4 separate regions of the Homo sapiens genome follow, and regions 2, 3 and 4 are each linked to region 1. Evidence: promoter capture Hi-C in 16 types of primary human blood cells and fetal thymus (Javierre and others, 2016). All regions are on one chromosome and are shown on one strand. Each heading gives the region's core, a stretch centred on a gene start or on the middle of the fragment in contact. The rest is flanking DNA. Distances are from core to core; before and after follow the strand shown.

What was found. The method cuts DNA at HindIII sites, captures the fragments that hold promoters and counts their contacts. A CHiCAGO score of 5 or more calls a contact.
Region 2: a contact is called between a fragment that was not itself captured here and the fragment with the promoter of ZNF425 in region 1, in 1 of 17 cell types (activated CD4 T cells). The highest score is 6.1, in activated CD4 T cells.
Region 3: the fragment with the promoter of ZNF777 here is called in contact with the fragment with the promoter of ZNF425 in region 1 in 2 of 17 cell types (neutrophils and naive CD8 T cells); the score reaches 6.3 in neutrophils.
Region 4: a contact is called between a fragment that was not itself captured here and the fragment with the promoter of ZNF425 in region 1, in 3 of 17 cell types (non-activated CD4 T cells, naive CD8 T cells and fetal thymus). The highest score is 5.5, in non-activated CD4 T cells.

The regions. Positions count from the first base shown.
Region 1 is chr7:149,125,036-149,128,638 of GRCh38, reverse strand. It overlaps ZNF425 (zinc finger protein 425), which reads left to right and starts at 2,315. Exons shown (of 4, transcript NM_001001661.3): 1 at 2,315-2,443. The coding sequence starts at 2,426. It also overlaps the pseudogene RN7SL521P and a transcript of ZNF398 not described here. RefSeq lists enhancers at 1,336-1,385, 2,049-2,600, 2,601-3,152, 3,400-3,603 and silencers at 1,546-1,985, 2,717-2,890. The HindIII fragment of the contact is 7,753 bases long and covers 1-3,527 here.
Region 2 is chr7:148,622,370-148,625,972 of GRCh38, reverse strand. It overlaps LOC105375557 (a long non-coding RNA gene), which reads left to right and starts at 533. Exons shown (of 3, transcript XR_001745397.2): 1 at 533-614; 2 at 1,138-1,292; 3 at 1,417-1,633. The HindIII fragment of the contact is 676 bases long and covers 1,269-1,944 here.
Region 3 is chr7:149,458,999-149,462,601 of GRCh38, reverse strand. ZNF777 (zinc finger protein 777) reads left to right here and starts at 1,540. Exons shown (of 6, transcript NM_015694.3): 1 at 1,540-1,787. RefSeq lists silencers at 1,560-1,899, 2,070-2,139, 2,430-2,509, 2,520-2,879. The HindIII fragment of the contact is 6,109 bases long and covers 1-3,241 here.
Region 4 is chr7:149,421,212-149,424,814 of GRCh38, reverse strand. No RefSeq gene overlaps it. Among named protein-coding and RNA genes, the nearest start is that of TRC-GCA11-1, 7.8 kb to the right of the region's middle. RefSeq lists a silencer at 2,147-2,396 and an enhancer at 2,528-3,027. The HindIII fragment of the contact is 2,318 bases long and covers 477-2,794 here.

The DNA.
Region 1 (3,603 bases), core at 1,066-3,565:
CAAATAGCTGAGATTAACGTCTTTGCCACTGTGCTGACAAAATCTTGTATTTTCTGTAGAGATGGGGTTTCGCCATGTTGCCCAGGCTGGTCTTCAACTCCTGTGCTCAGGCAATCCTACTGCCTCAGCCTCCCAAAGTGCTGGGATTACAGACGTGAGCTACTGCGCCCGGCCAGAGAATCTAGCACCTTTTAAAGGTTTAAATAGGAAATTTTTGCCATCTAAAGACAGTCACTATGAGACATCCTAAGAATCTTGGTCTCCACAACCCCTTATCTTAACCCAGACACTCCTTTCTATGAACCTGGTCTTCAGATAGCCAATTGCCAATCAGAAAATCGCTGAATCCGCCTGTGACCTGTAAGCACCGCTTGGAGTTGTCCCGCCTTTCCTGACAGAACCAGTGTACACTTTACATGTATTGACTGATGTCTTAAGTCTTCCCAAAACGTGTAAAATCAAGCTGTAACCCAACCACCTTGGATACATGTTCTTAGGACCTCTTCAGACAGTACCTTGGCCTTCCTCACTCATATTTGGCTCAGAATAAACTTCTAAATATTTTACAGTTTGACTCTTCGTAAACATGGATGAATCACAAAAGCATTACGCTTTTGAGGAGCCAGTCACAAAAGGTTATATCATACTGTATGATTCCATTTATATACCATTTCTAAAAAGAGAAAACTAGGTTTCAAGAGCAGATCAGTCCTTGCCAAGGATCCAGGTGTCGGAGGGAGTGACCATAAAGCAAATGAAGCACAGAAGAGAATGGCAGCACAAGGAGTTTCAGGGTGGGACAGGGCTCTTCCGTATCCTGGTTACAGTGGTTACTACACGTATACATACATATGTGAAAATTCATAGAACTTTACACCCAAAGAAACGTTAGTTTTTTTGTTTGTTTGTTTTTGGTTTTTTTGAGATGGAGTCTCCCTCTGTCGCCCAGGCTGGAGTGCAGTGGCGCGATCTCGGCTCACTGCAAGCTCCGCCTCCCGGGTTCACGCCACTCTCCCGACTCAGCCTCCCTAGGAGCTGGGACTACAGGCGCCCGCCACAACGCTCGGCTATTTTTTTTTTTTTTTTTTTTGTATTTTTAGTAGAGACGGGGTTTCGCCGTTAGCCAGGATGGTCTCGCTCTCCTGACCTCGTGATCCGCCCGCCTCCGCCTCCCAAAGTGCTGGGATTACAGGCGTGAGGCACCGCGCCCATCCGAAACGTTAGTTTTAATGTAAGGTTTTTTTTTTTTAACCCTTTAATCAGTAAGGTGCATCTACATTTCACGATTCCGGGACAAATACAGATGTGCACACGCTCCTCAGCCTATGCAGGGACTACTTTCTCATGGACATCCTTTCTAACTACACACTTTTCATTTGTTACTTTAGCCTGACACCTAAAACATGACTAGGACAGAATGCGAGGTTGATTTTCTGGGGACAGTCGCCACCCCCTTCCTTGCCCTCTCTCTCCTTTCTGTCTCTCCCTGGTTTCCCCTTCTGCGTCTTCCCACCTCTCCCGTTTTTGCGTCTTCGTGTTTCTCACGCCCTGTGTCATGGCCTCCTCCGTCTTCTCCCGCTCTGTCACAGTCTCCCGCCGGGGGCTAGGGGTGCCCGGCCCGCATCCCTGGGCGACCCTGAGTCCCCGCAGGCGGCCCCGAGGCCGGGGTGGCTTCCGCATGGGGTCTCTGCCCGAGGCCTTTCTCTGCCAAGGAGGGAGTGTGGACGCTCGGGGAGCCCAGAAGGGCGCTGCACCCACGGGGACCGGACGTGGTGGGCGGACCCCTCCTCCGCGTCCCCGACGGGACATGCCCGGGGCCCACACGGCCTCCGCGCCCCCGGCGGGACGGACACCCCGGGCCACCGCGCGCCCCCCACCACCTACCCGGCCTCGCTGGATTCCCGGGACCCCCTCACAAACGAAACCCTCGAGCTCATCCCTGACTTGGGGGCAGCTTTGGAAGGAACAGCACCGGACTCTCACCCTCTCGCTGCCTCTCAGTCCGGGTTTCTGTGGAGCGCGTCTCCCAGTCGCTGTCCCTACTCTCTCCCTGTTCCTGCTCTCTCCATGTTCACCTGCCCCTCCGTTTCCCCTCCCGTCAGCTCCCTCATCTCGTCTTCGACCGCATCCCTCGCATGCAGATCCGGGAGTCCAAGGGTCCCTCAAAGACCGGCGTGCTGCGGCCCGCACGGAGGGTGCCCGGGCCCCTCCTCTGAGGACCGACTCCCTCTGGCGGCGCCGCTCCTCCCGCCCGCAGGGGGCGCTATGGGGCGGAGCGGCTTCCGCTTCCGAGCGCCGAGTCCCAGCATGCACCGCGCCCGGCCGGCTCTGCCTTTGGGGGCCAGCAGGGCTGTACCTGGGAGTTGGGTTGGGGCGGAGCGGAGGGGAGGCCGTGCCAGGCAGGGCCGGTTCGTGCGGAACCGCCATGGCCGAGCCGGCTTCGGTAAGAAGGGCCGGTGGAGGATGCAGGCTCTGTCGAAACTCGGGTCCCTGTCGCAGCTGGATTGGGGTCCGCGTCCAGGGAGTGGGGCGGCCGGGGCCTGGGCCTGGGGGTTGGCAGTGGCCCACGGACTGAGCTCCGGGCTGGGCTGGAGAAGGTGCAGTCTTGCTGCGTGTGCTGTTCTGGAATTGACCTGGGGAAAAGCTGGTCTGGCCGGGCTTGGCCGCGCGCGTCTGTGGCCCCGGCCACTCGGAAGGCTGAGGCGGGAGCAGCGCTTGAGCCCGGGAGCTCTGCGCTGTATATGCGCTAGGTCCGTCGCGCGGTGCCTCTGAGTTCTGCATCTGTGTGGTGACCTCTCGGGAGCGGGGACCACCAGGTTCCCCAGGGAGGGGGAACCGGCCCAGCTCGGAAACCGAGCAGGGCAAAACCCCAGTGCTGATCGTTAGTGGGATCGCGCCTGTGAATAGCCACTGCCCTCCAGCCTGGGCAACAGCCAGACCCCGTCTGTTTAATACATAAATAAAAGTTGGTTTGGGAGAAAGAATCCGGGTGGGAAAGATCTGTTTCTCGGCCTGTTGTAGGCTCAGATCAACAACGCTGTCCCTGCCTTCAGTGTCGGGGCTCTGAACCTCGGGGTCTCTCTGGGGCCCGTGCTCTCCTGCTGAAGGTAGTTTCAGAGAAGCACATCAGTGTTAAGCAGATGAGAAAAAGGAGAAGGAAAGCTGGAACTGAGAGAAATTGGAGACCGCTCCCTCTAGGAAAGGACAGAAAACTTAAAATGAATTGGGTGGTTAGCGTAAATCGAATTTACCGTAAATGCTGTAGTATTGTAATGTAGTATTGAAAATTTGAGCACCGGTTTTAGAGTTTGAAAGGCGTATCCTGAGGCTTAATCCAAGAAACCCTGTTACATTCAGTTAAGTATAACTTGCTTAAGTGTGCAAGTTTTTCTTGTGCCCCCAATGAAATTTTATAATCTTAGGAATGTAATGCTCCTTATTTGCATTTGATTCTTCCCTTTTGCTTCCCACTCCTTTTCCCCACCCTCCTTTGGCAGGTACAGATTCTTTTCTGATTTCTCCAAGCTTTGTTTCTACAGCCAGGCTTTCTTTTTTTCTCTCCTCTTTAAGTGATTGGGAATCTCCTGGAATATTCCTCTCTGT
Region 2 (3,603 bases), core at 357-2,856, 500 kb after region 1:
ATTAGAGAAAAAACCCTAAAGATTATAGTTTATTGCTCTGTAGAACAATGATGAGTTTTAGTATTTAATAATTTTATTCTAGCCTTCTCTTTGATGGGAAATATGTACATTCGTTTCTTGCATCTGCCTTTGAATCATTTTGTCATTCTGTTTGTTCCCTCATTAGCGAGCTGAAAATAACCTTGACATATGCTCTTATGTATATGTGTTGTTTTAACATTTTGAAAATTCTACTTTTAACAGTACTCAAGATCAGACCATGCTACTGCTTTCACTCCCTGCAGATGGTCATATTTTTGAGGCCTTCATTCATTTAATTGTCTTTTTTGTGTTATCTCTAAATTCTCCATGGCTCTGGACAGTAATTAAACATAAAGGAGAGAAGTTCTCCCGCCAGCTGTCCTGCGTCACTCCTTCAGTTCTCAGCTTAGATTTCCTGTCCTTGGGAAGCTGTCATCATCCTTCTATCTTTACACCCCATGATTTACCCCTTGCAGTGTACTTATTACACTGTATTGGAATCGCTTCTTTTCTCTTTCTCTGTGAATTTCTTGAGAGCACAGACTACATTCTGCTTAACTTTTTATCCCCAGCTTTCAGCACAGTGCCTGGCTGTAAGTACTCAATAAATATTTTGAATGAATACTTTATGGGCTAAATGTTACATCAGTCTTATTTTGTGTGTTCAAGGGTGCTAAATAATAGTCACATATAATTTATTGTTCTAACAATAGCAATGGCAATCTTTAGCTTGTGTGCTCCTTGTAGACCTTCCTTTTGGGGATTGTAGTGGTGGTGCATTTTTGCATAACCAAGTCTTCATCTTATATTAGTTGTTTTGGTCCCTTCCATAATATTTTCAGAATACTGCTCCTTTAAGACTGGTGAAAGCCTGCTGGTGGAGGAAGAGGTCCTGCCACTGAACAAAGTGTCTGTGTAGATTTAGCTACACCCATTTGATGTGCTTCTTAGTCTCGTTTAACTTGCCGATTCATATATCCCTGTCTCATTTGTTCTTAGATTTGTCACGAAGCCTCTGGTTTTTGGCTTGTCCTGGTTTGAACTTGGTGTATCTGGCTCTTGACTCATTTTCTGACCTCAGACCATCCTTAAATCTGCTTTTCTACTTTGTACCAGGCTTTGGCGTCTCCAAGTACCTGACCTCAGCTCAACCTGTCTTGGGTTTTCTTCTCCTCCCTGACATTGACAACCCAGCCCTCCTAGGCACAGAGAGATGGAGCTGAGTGTGGTTTTCCTGAAATAAAGCTTGCATTATGAGAGGGAATAAACAGGTACATAGTGTTTTAGACGGCAGCATTTTAACTTCATGTAGGCATTGTTTTCATGACAATTTTCTTTTGTTTCTCCTTTTGTTATGAAATATGCATTTCGCCAATATTAAATGGAATATTCCAGAAGAAAAAAATAGTAAGTAAAATCTTGCTTGCCTCTCAGTAAAATAAAGCTCTATTTTTCGTTTTTTTTTTTTCCAACTTCCTGTACAAAAAAGGGAAAACTTTAGCTTTTGGGGGAAATTTGGAGCTAGCCTGTTGGTACTGTTGAGCTTAGTGTATCTATAACTATATATTATTCCACAATATCTTAAATACTTTATAAAGATATTTTCATAAATTACAGCAATCCTGGCTTTAGATGATTGATGGCCATTTTTAAACAATTAAAGCTAATTTCTAGCTTTTTATGAGTTTGGTATTAAGCACAGTAGTTTCTTAGAAAGTCTCCAGGGAATGCATTTTGCAAAATAAAAATCAGCTAATGACCCAGGAAAGCCTCTTCATGCTTGTTTACAACTTTTTAAAGTGGCTCTTTTCAAACGTCAGGGTTTTTTTTTTCTCAGTCACTAGATGAAAAATTATAGAAACCATCACATCCAGTCAATTGGTTGCTGTAATTCCAAAAGATTTAGACAAAGTGAAGAAAGCTTACCCACTGGAGGGCATGTAATGTCACCGGCATGTGACGAGATGTGCATATTTGTGGTGGACCGGGTGCTTGATGTGAGAAGTGCTGGCAATGAGGAGTCAGCCTGGCCCAAATAACCACAAAAAAGAACAGATTTCAGACAGGCCGTTTTACAGTTTCCCACTTGTTCTTTTGCCAACTTCCAGCCACTTCTTTCTCTAGCACTGATCAAACAAAACAAACGATCATTCTGGAAAAGTTCTGAAAATATAGGTCACTTGTTTCTTTTTGTTATCTTTAATCTGCTGTGTATCGACTTACCTTTCCACACTGATCCACTCAATTTACGTTTAAATAAAGTTTTCAAATTAACTGCATGCTAAAAAAATAAGCTAATTAGGGGGATGAAGGCTGTTAAAACATGTGTTGTCTTTTCTTCATTGCGATAAAGATCGAGGTGACCAGCATTTTTTTTTTTTTTTGAAACAGAGACTCACTTTGTCACCCAGGCTGGAGTGCAGTGGTGCCATCTCGGCTCACTGCAACCTCCACCTCCCAGGTTCAAGTGATTCTCCTGCCTCAGCCTCCTGAGTAGCTGGGATTACAGGCTGCGCACCACCAAGCCTGGCTAATTTTTGTATTTTTTTGGTAGAGACAGGGTTTCACTGTGTTGGCCAGGCTGGGGGGTGACCAGCTTTTACAAACAGCCTGTAAAATGTTTTTCATTGTAGCCACAGCCAGTTCTGATATTGTCCTGAAACCGCTCAATATGTAGCACACCTGCCATAAATTTTTTTAACTTGATTTTTATTAGAAAATCCTGATTCACATTCACTAGAATAAAAAAGAATCTGGAGAGAGTGTTTCAGTCTTCTTTCTTATTGATTTATTTCTCTCCCACATGGCTGTATTTTCACAGCGGCACCATCTGTCAATTAAGCAACGGCTCTGCGTAAGCAGTAAAACCAGAGGGTGTGCTTTGCCACAGGGGCGAGCTTGTTTGTTGAGGGATACAGGCTTTTGGAGAAGTAGCTTCTCATTCAGCCCTCAGGCTTTTGTGGGGAATGCATTTTAAAACTCTGCAGACCCAGATGGAGAGCCGGAGTTACAAAATGACAGTGTTTTCAGGATTCACTCTCAGAATCTTCCTCTTGGGTATTTCTAACAATTTATTTCCTTTATTATTTCAAAAACAGAGTTTTCTTCTAGTCAACAATAATGCGTAATGCACTTAAAACATTTGTTAAGAGGGTAGAGCTCACGTTAGGTGTTCTTACCACAATAAAATATTTTAATAAAATGGTTTTTATTAAATTATTTTAAAATTTACTTTATCAAATATTGAATATACTCAGAATATCCTCTAATAATATTGGAATAGATAACCTTATCCCTGATCATTTCACACTTACATGGGAATATTCATAAAATAAATTGCTAGTAGTGGGACTGCTGGAACAAATGTACATGCATTATAATTTTGATAGACACTGCTAAATTGCCACAGGCGTTTGACCAATTTACACTTCCACCAACAATGTGTGAGAGGGTCTGTTTTTTGATGGCCTTAGTGACAGGATATGTTACCAAGCTCTTAGATTTTTGCCAATTTGATAGGTGAAAGCGATGTTTCAGTGTGGTTTAACTGGCATTCATATTTTATGAGTGAGGCTGAATATC
Region 3 (3,603 bases), core at 291-2,790, 330 kb before region 1:
AAATTCACAGAGGAAGAAACCAAATGTCAGTAAACATGAAAAGATGTCCAACTTCATTAATCAGGGAAATACAAATACAAATTAAAATAATGAGCTACCATTTCACAGTCATCATGTCGGCAAACGTTCTGAGTCCATTATCAGTAAGTATGAGCCAGGATGGGGAAAGAGAAAATCACACGATAGTGGGTGTGTAAGTAGGCACCATCCCTTCAGTGAGCAGTTCGGGAAGCCGGGGAAAGATGAAGGTGCTCTTGCCATCCAGAGTCCCATGTCTAGGCGTCTCTAGAGACGCACTTTAGCAGTGCACAATGAGACATGCATGCAGATGTCGCTGGCAGCAGGTTTGTTCTCATTCCTCTAGGGGGAATGGAACGTAAACTGTAGTTTATGTATTCAATGAAATACTATATTGTGGGTAAAATGAATGAACCAGATATTCTTGTTTAAACATGTCTGTATCTCAAAAACAAAATGACCCATGGAAAAAAGCAAGTTGCAACAGGATAGGGACTGGATAATATCATTCACATAAAATGTAAAAATACCAAAACCAGTAGTGTGCATTGTTTACGAATGCACACATGTTAGTTAATGCATAAAGACCTGGGTGAGAACTCTAGCCTCCGGGAAGGGAGGGGACAGGATGCATAGCTCTGGCCTTACCTCTATCTGTAACTTTCCTTTTTTTTGTTTTTTGAGACGGAGTCTTGATCTGTCCCCTAGGCTGGAGTGCAGTGGGGCGATCTCGGCTCACTGCAACCTCTGCCTCCCGGGTTCAAGAGATTCTCCTGCCTCAGCCTCCCAAGTAGCTGGGACTACAGGGCCGCGCCACCACGTCCAGCTAATTTTGGTATTTTTAGTAGAGACAGGGTTTCATCACGTTAGCCAGGTTGGTCTCGATCTCTTGACCTCGTGATCTGCCCACCTCAGCCTCCCAAAGTGCTGGGATTACAGGCATGAGCCACCACGTCTGGCCATAACTTTCCATTATCTGAGCTGCCAGCATACTGAGTCCTGTTGCCTTCCAAGACCAGCTCCACTCCTGGGGTTCCATTAGGTAAACACAATGTCCTCTGCTCCCCCCCGCCGTCTTCCCTCACTTAAGTTAGTTCCAGTTGGGCTTCATCGCTAGTAACCAGGACGCCTGCCTATAGTTTCTTCTTTTTTTTTCCTTTTCAATTCATCCCCAGTTCTCGCCACCTCGTAGGTATTCAATTAATACATGTTTAAGTGGACCTGTCCAGGAAGGGGAGTTCTCAACTCTAAGCTCCTGCATTTCTTTTGGGACTTCTCATGGTTACAAAGAGCATTCATTCATACTGTGACTGAGGGTAAACAAGTCGCTGCCCACTCGGCCTCAGTTTCCTCCTAAATGACCCGTCTGGCCACTTCCAGCCCCAGCAGGGTCTGATTCTAGGAATTCGGTCCTTTCATGTCGAAAACAACACTCGGGCATTTCACAAAAGCACCCAACCCCCTGGCTCCCCTTGGAAGCACAGCCCGCGTCCCTGGAACCCGGGCTGCACTGAGCTGGTCACATGAACTCCGGGCTTTCTCTGGTGTGACGGGTTTCTTAGATCCCTTTGTGAGCGCAGGTTTTGAAAGGGAACGACCCCGGGTTCTGGGTGTGAGAGGCGCAGGGGATCGGCGGGAGGAAGGCTGTCGGAGCCAATCAAGCCGCCTCCAGACCCCAGCACGTCGCCTGGGCTGCGCGCTCCGACTGCGCCTCCGCCCGCGCGCCTCCCGGCCTCGCCCGAGGGTGCCTGGGCAGGCGAGGACCCCAGGTGAGAGGCCGGAGGGTCCTGGAGGGTGGGAGGCCCCGGCGGTTCGGCCCGGGCTCCACGACGGGCTGGCCCGGGCTCAGGGCGTGTCCGTCGCCGCCGGGCGGCTCGCTCGACACTGTTCGCTCCTACCGGCTGTAGATGGAGCTGTCTGGGTTCCGGCAGCCTCCGACGAGCCTCGGAGTGTTTCTCTTTAAACGGCCTGAGAGGGACATGCCTCCCAGGATGCAGTTTGTAGCAACATGGCAGCTGCTGTGCAGCTCCCCTGCTAAAGAGGCGCCGGGACGGCAGCGCAGCTCGCAGCCGGGGCCGGGGCCGGAGCTGGGGTCCCAGCCGCGGCCGCAGAGGGGCGGCGCGCGGGCCGGGGGCCGCCGTTGAGGGCCGGGGCCCAGCTCGCCGCCGGGACGCAGCCGGCCGGGCCGCCCGCACAGCCGCGCGCCCAGCTCCGACGCCGCCGCTCGGGCTCCGCGACCCCGCGCCCGCTCGCCCCGCGCGCCCCGAGCAGGCCGGGGCCCGACGGCCGCGCGCGAGCCCCGGCGGGGAAGACAGGGCTGGGCCGGCGCCGCCTGCGGAGAGCGCCGGGCGGCCGGGCCTGCGTGGGGCCGCGCGCAGTAGCGGCGGCGGCAGTAGCGGCGGCGACTCCGGGGGCCCGGGCCGGACAGCGCAGGGCCATGGCCGAGGCGGCCCCGGCTCCTGTGAGGGCGGCCCGCGCGCGCACGGACGCGCGGCCTCGGGGCCCCGGGGACGGCCTGCGTGTCCCGGGCTCGGCGGCCCGGCCTGGGATCTCGGTAAGGGGCAGAAACGCTACGACGTTGGCGCGGGGGGTGGGGGCGCCCTGGAGGGGGCCCGCGCGTCTTGACCCGGGCGGTGGGGGAGGGCTACGGGCCTCGCCGCCGTCCGTGCGAGGGAGGCTGCTCTCACGCCCGGCCCGGCACACACGCGGCCCCGAGGTGGGGCGCCCGGAGGCGCGCTCGCTCCCTGCGGGGCCCGCGCTGCGTCCGTCGGGGTAGCCGCCGGCACGTTTTCCGCAGAGCTCGGCCCCGCGGAGCCTTCCCCGGCCCGGGCGCGGCGCTGACGCGGCTCTCCCATTTCGCAGAACGGAGACACTGAGGCACAGACACCTGGCGGCGACCCGCCCTGCCGGCCCCAAGGTCACGTAGCAAGGCATCCGTGGCACGGTGCGGCAGCCCCAGAAAGGCCTGCCCAGAGGGCTGCGGGCCTGGACGGGGAGGGGGTGGCTCTGGCGGCGGCCGCCCCTGGGTGAGGGGCTGGGCCGCCCTGGCAGCGGACGCGGCCCGTCGGGGGCGGCGGGGGAGGCCGGGCAGCGCCCAGCTGGGCATCTCCGCGGTGGGAGCAGGTGACCCTCTGAGCTCCAGCCTCTGCCTCCGGCCTCTGCGTCTGGAAGGTCGTAGGCTAAACTTTGAGTGCCCTGACAGATGGTGTCTGGGGAGTAAGCTTCTCAGGGGTTGGGGGCTGATGTTCCTCTTCAGGAAGACACTCTTAAAAAATCATCCCTCAGATCCTCCCGCAGACCTGCTCTTTGAGACGCCCTGGCCGTGCTAGTGAGAGGATTACTGCATGGGAGTCAGTGCCTTTGAGCCTCAGTTTCCTATTGTGTACACAGGAAGGAGGCAGGATATATAGCTTTCTAAAAAGCATCCCAATTCTTTAATCAAAAAAAAACTCATGAGAAAATAAAATCAAACGAAGATGTTTACATGCCTTACTCTGGGCTCAGGCCTTCGGGGCCCTTGAATGGTATATAATGCTGGGTGAACCATACTGGGTCATTCAAAAAAATGCCATGACTTTCTTAATA
Region 4 (3,603 bases), core at 386-2,885, 300 kb before region 1:
TTGTTGCCAGCTCTTCAGAGTCTTGAAACAAACGTTAATTGCATACAAACATGCTTGGGTGTTCATTTTACCAAAAAGATGAACTCTTATTAGTATGTAGTAATCACATAACAGAATTCCAGAATCTTATTTAAAATTCTTTGCCCCCAAATGAAAATAGCGTTTTTTTCTGGTTGTAGAAGGAATTTCTATGTTCTAAACAATAAAAACTTACAATTGAATGAGTCCCTTATTTCTCCAAGAGAAGGTATCAAGTCTTTTCCATAACTATGGAAGAAATCAATTTTAACCACCCAGTATGAGGACTTCTAACCATCTCCACCTGTGAAATTACTTGGAAGAGTTCATCCCTTCTCTGTAGAACTAAATCTGTAATATATTTTAGAATCTCTTTCAGATTCAGGACATGAAATCTTTATCAAATTTATAATGGTCAGCCAAATTTTTTGCACTTCATCTGTCAGTGTTTTCAAGCTTTCGTTTGTAGCCTCCGGAATCCCTTGTTTAAATAAAACAATTTTCAGAAGCTAAATATGTAAAATAACTCGTGCCTTAAGAGGCTGGAGAGGGAGCCAAGCCTACCTGCTCTGGCGCCCCCGTCTTCCCAAACTCCCCCTGCGCTGAGGGGTCTCCAAGGAGGAAGCTCACTTCAAAAACCTCTGCCCTGGGCAAGTCACCAGGGCTCCTTTTCTCTTGCTTCAACCTTTCCTAGCCTCAATCCAAACTCTGTATGTTTAATTTATCCAGTGACACACTCCATGCTTACTTAATTCTTTGATAGAACAGTTTCTTAGTTTTATTTTTTTTCCTTGTGGGATATGCATGCTTTCCTATTCTCTATGCGTTACTTGGCAGATGTTCATATCAGAAAATGGTAAGTCTCTATAACCTTGCCAGTGAAATCCAGAGAGCTAACATCCACTGAGAATCCCTGGAAGGCCGGGGAAGATAGCAGGACAGATGTCTTAAGCCCTGTGAGAAAGCTACAAAGACGTCTCCCCCGCCCCAACCCCCATGTTATTTTTACAGCAAACGCTTCCACGGTGAAGGCAACGGGAGATTCAGGTGCAAGGTGCAGCCTAGCAAGACCCCTGGCCACACACGCATCACTGCGGGAGGTTGGAGGGTCCCCTCTACCGGGCTTTCCAGGGCTTGGCGCGTGCTCGGAGCGTGCACTCAGCGGCCATTGTGTGTTTGATTTTTCCCAAGGGCAGGGCCGGCTTTTGTTCATTTCGCGCTTGCTCCAGAGTCTGGCGCAAGGTCCTCAGAGGTCCTCAGTGCACGCGAAATGAACGGATGAACAAGCCACAGGTGACAATGTGCGGGAAGAAACACGGGTACAATCCCAAATCTCTGCCCAGCTGGGATGGAGATGATTTTCTTCATTAAACCTGATCCAACACCTTTAAACGCTATCACTTAAAAATGGATTTTATCATTCCTTCTGATATTTCAGCCCCAATATTAGGTAGAGTACCCGGATCACTGCCAAATCCTCTTACCACCGTTGCAGGTGGCTGGTGTGCGGCAGAAATCCTGCTCCACGGCCCTGCCCTTTGCAGCAAGGTCACCCAGCTGCCTGATAAGGAGTCCAGGGACGGGCAGCAAGCGGGACTGCGGGGAAAGCGCCGGGCACGCCGCGTGGCACCCGAGGCCCGCCCGCCCTTCCTGGCTGGGTATGAACACCAGCCGCGCCCGCGGGCGGCGACCCCGGGCTTCCTCTCGTTCAGGTCGCCTGGCGCGGCCGTGCCTTCCTGCTTCCCTACGGCAGCGGCACACCGGGACCTTGGGGAACCGGGAAGGGGCCCTTCCCCAAGCCAGGCCTCTGGCCCATCCAGGTCCCCTCGAGTCCCCCCAGCTCACCCAGAGCTCAGCGGGTCCCGTCCTCGGTCTCCCCGCCGGCCTCGCGGCTCCATTGCTGCCGCCCGAGAGGCCCTACGCGAGCTCCTAAAACCCTGCGCCCTCCATTTGGCGCCTGTGGGATGGGGCACAACCGTGTCGGTCTCACTGGTGCTGTGAGTGCAGCTGAGAGCCAATGGAGCAAGGACTTAACACAAACGATTATATTTTTATTTTAAAGATGTATTTATGCGTCTCTATCCATATTTTAAATATGCACATTTTCTCGATTACATTAATTTTGATGACTTGACTTTTAGACGTTCCTCTGCCTGGGCGTTTTTTCTCCCGTCTGATGAGAACGGGAGCGCGCTGCTGGGTGCCCGGCAGGGCGCGCCGGCGGCCCACGGGCTGCCTCCCGGGCCAGCGCCACGTCGGGCCGCGCGGGGCCGCGCGCTGCCCCCTGCCGGCCAGAGGCGAGGAGGCCCCGGAGGCCGCGGCGCCCTCACCTGGCCGCTGGCGGCCGCTCTAGGAATGCGCGCGGCCTTCTCGGTGGTGGCGGCCGCCTCGCGCCAGAGACCCGCTAGTCCCGACATCCGAGCCCCAGCCCCGCCTGCCAGCCGGCTGGCCCTTAGTCGCAGTGCGGGAGCCGCCCGGCCGCAGCCCCGAACCAGCCCTGGTTAGCAGGAGCCGCTGTCAGGTTGCTTTTCTTGCACACACTGGCCTGCCGGCCAAGGCCCCAGCAAATCCCCGTGCAAACACAGTTGGTGCAAACACAGTTAGTGCAAACAAAGGTGCGGCCGCAGGAATCTGAGAGCACAGGAAATATGAGACCTACCCCACCTCGAAGGCTCAACCCACGGCACAAAACAGCACAGAAGACCCGGAGGGCCTTGGGTCCCAGAAGGAGAGGGGACTCCGTGAATTGACCCCGAGCTTTAGGGTTGCTCAAGCTTCTTCCCGGGCAGCCTGCATTCTACCCACTTTTCTCGTTGTGCAGATGAGGAAACCAAGGCTGAGGCCCAGCTCCTGGCCGCTCGCTGTGTTTGTCCCATGCGGAGGTGGACCTGGAGGCGCTCTCTCATGATAGGCTGCACTTTTTTTTTTTTTTTTTTTTGAGACGGAGTCTCGCTCTGTCGCCCAAGCTGGAGTGCGGTGGCAGGATCTCGGCTCACTGCAAACTCTGCCTCCCGGGTTCACGCCGTTCTCCTGCCTCAGCCTCTCGAGTAGCTGGGACTACAGGCGCCCGCCACCACGCCTGGCTAATTTTTTATATTTTTAGTAGAGACGGGGTTTCACCGTGTTAGCCAGGCTGGTCTCGATCTCCTGACCTCGTCATCCGCCCGCCTCGGCCTCCCAAAGTGCTGGGATTACAGGCGTGAGCCACAGCGCCCGGCCTGCACTTTTTTTCCTTGATATATTTTCAAATGTCTGCCTAGTTTTTTCCGAAGACTAAATTCTTTAGCCCAGGCTGCGGTGGCCCCCTAATAAAACAAATGCCATGCAAAGACTAACCTCCTGGAGTGGAACTGCCTGGTCCAGGGTACGAGCGTTTTCTAAGGCGTTTGAGGCATAGGGCCAGACGATCCTCCCGCAGGTCGGCCGTCTCCCCTAGTTCTGTGTGGGGAGCAGGCAAGGAAGCCCCGCTCTGTGGGCCGGTGGGAAGGCTGGCAAGCACCCGGTGTATTTGAGTGACGTGTGCCTCCGTGTGAGTGATGTGCAGGCGGCAGGGCCTCTGTCCTATTGTGGGGCCTCACTCTTAAC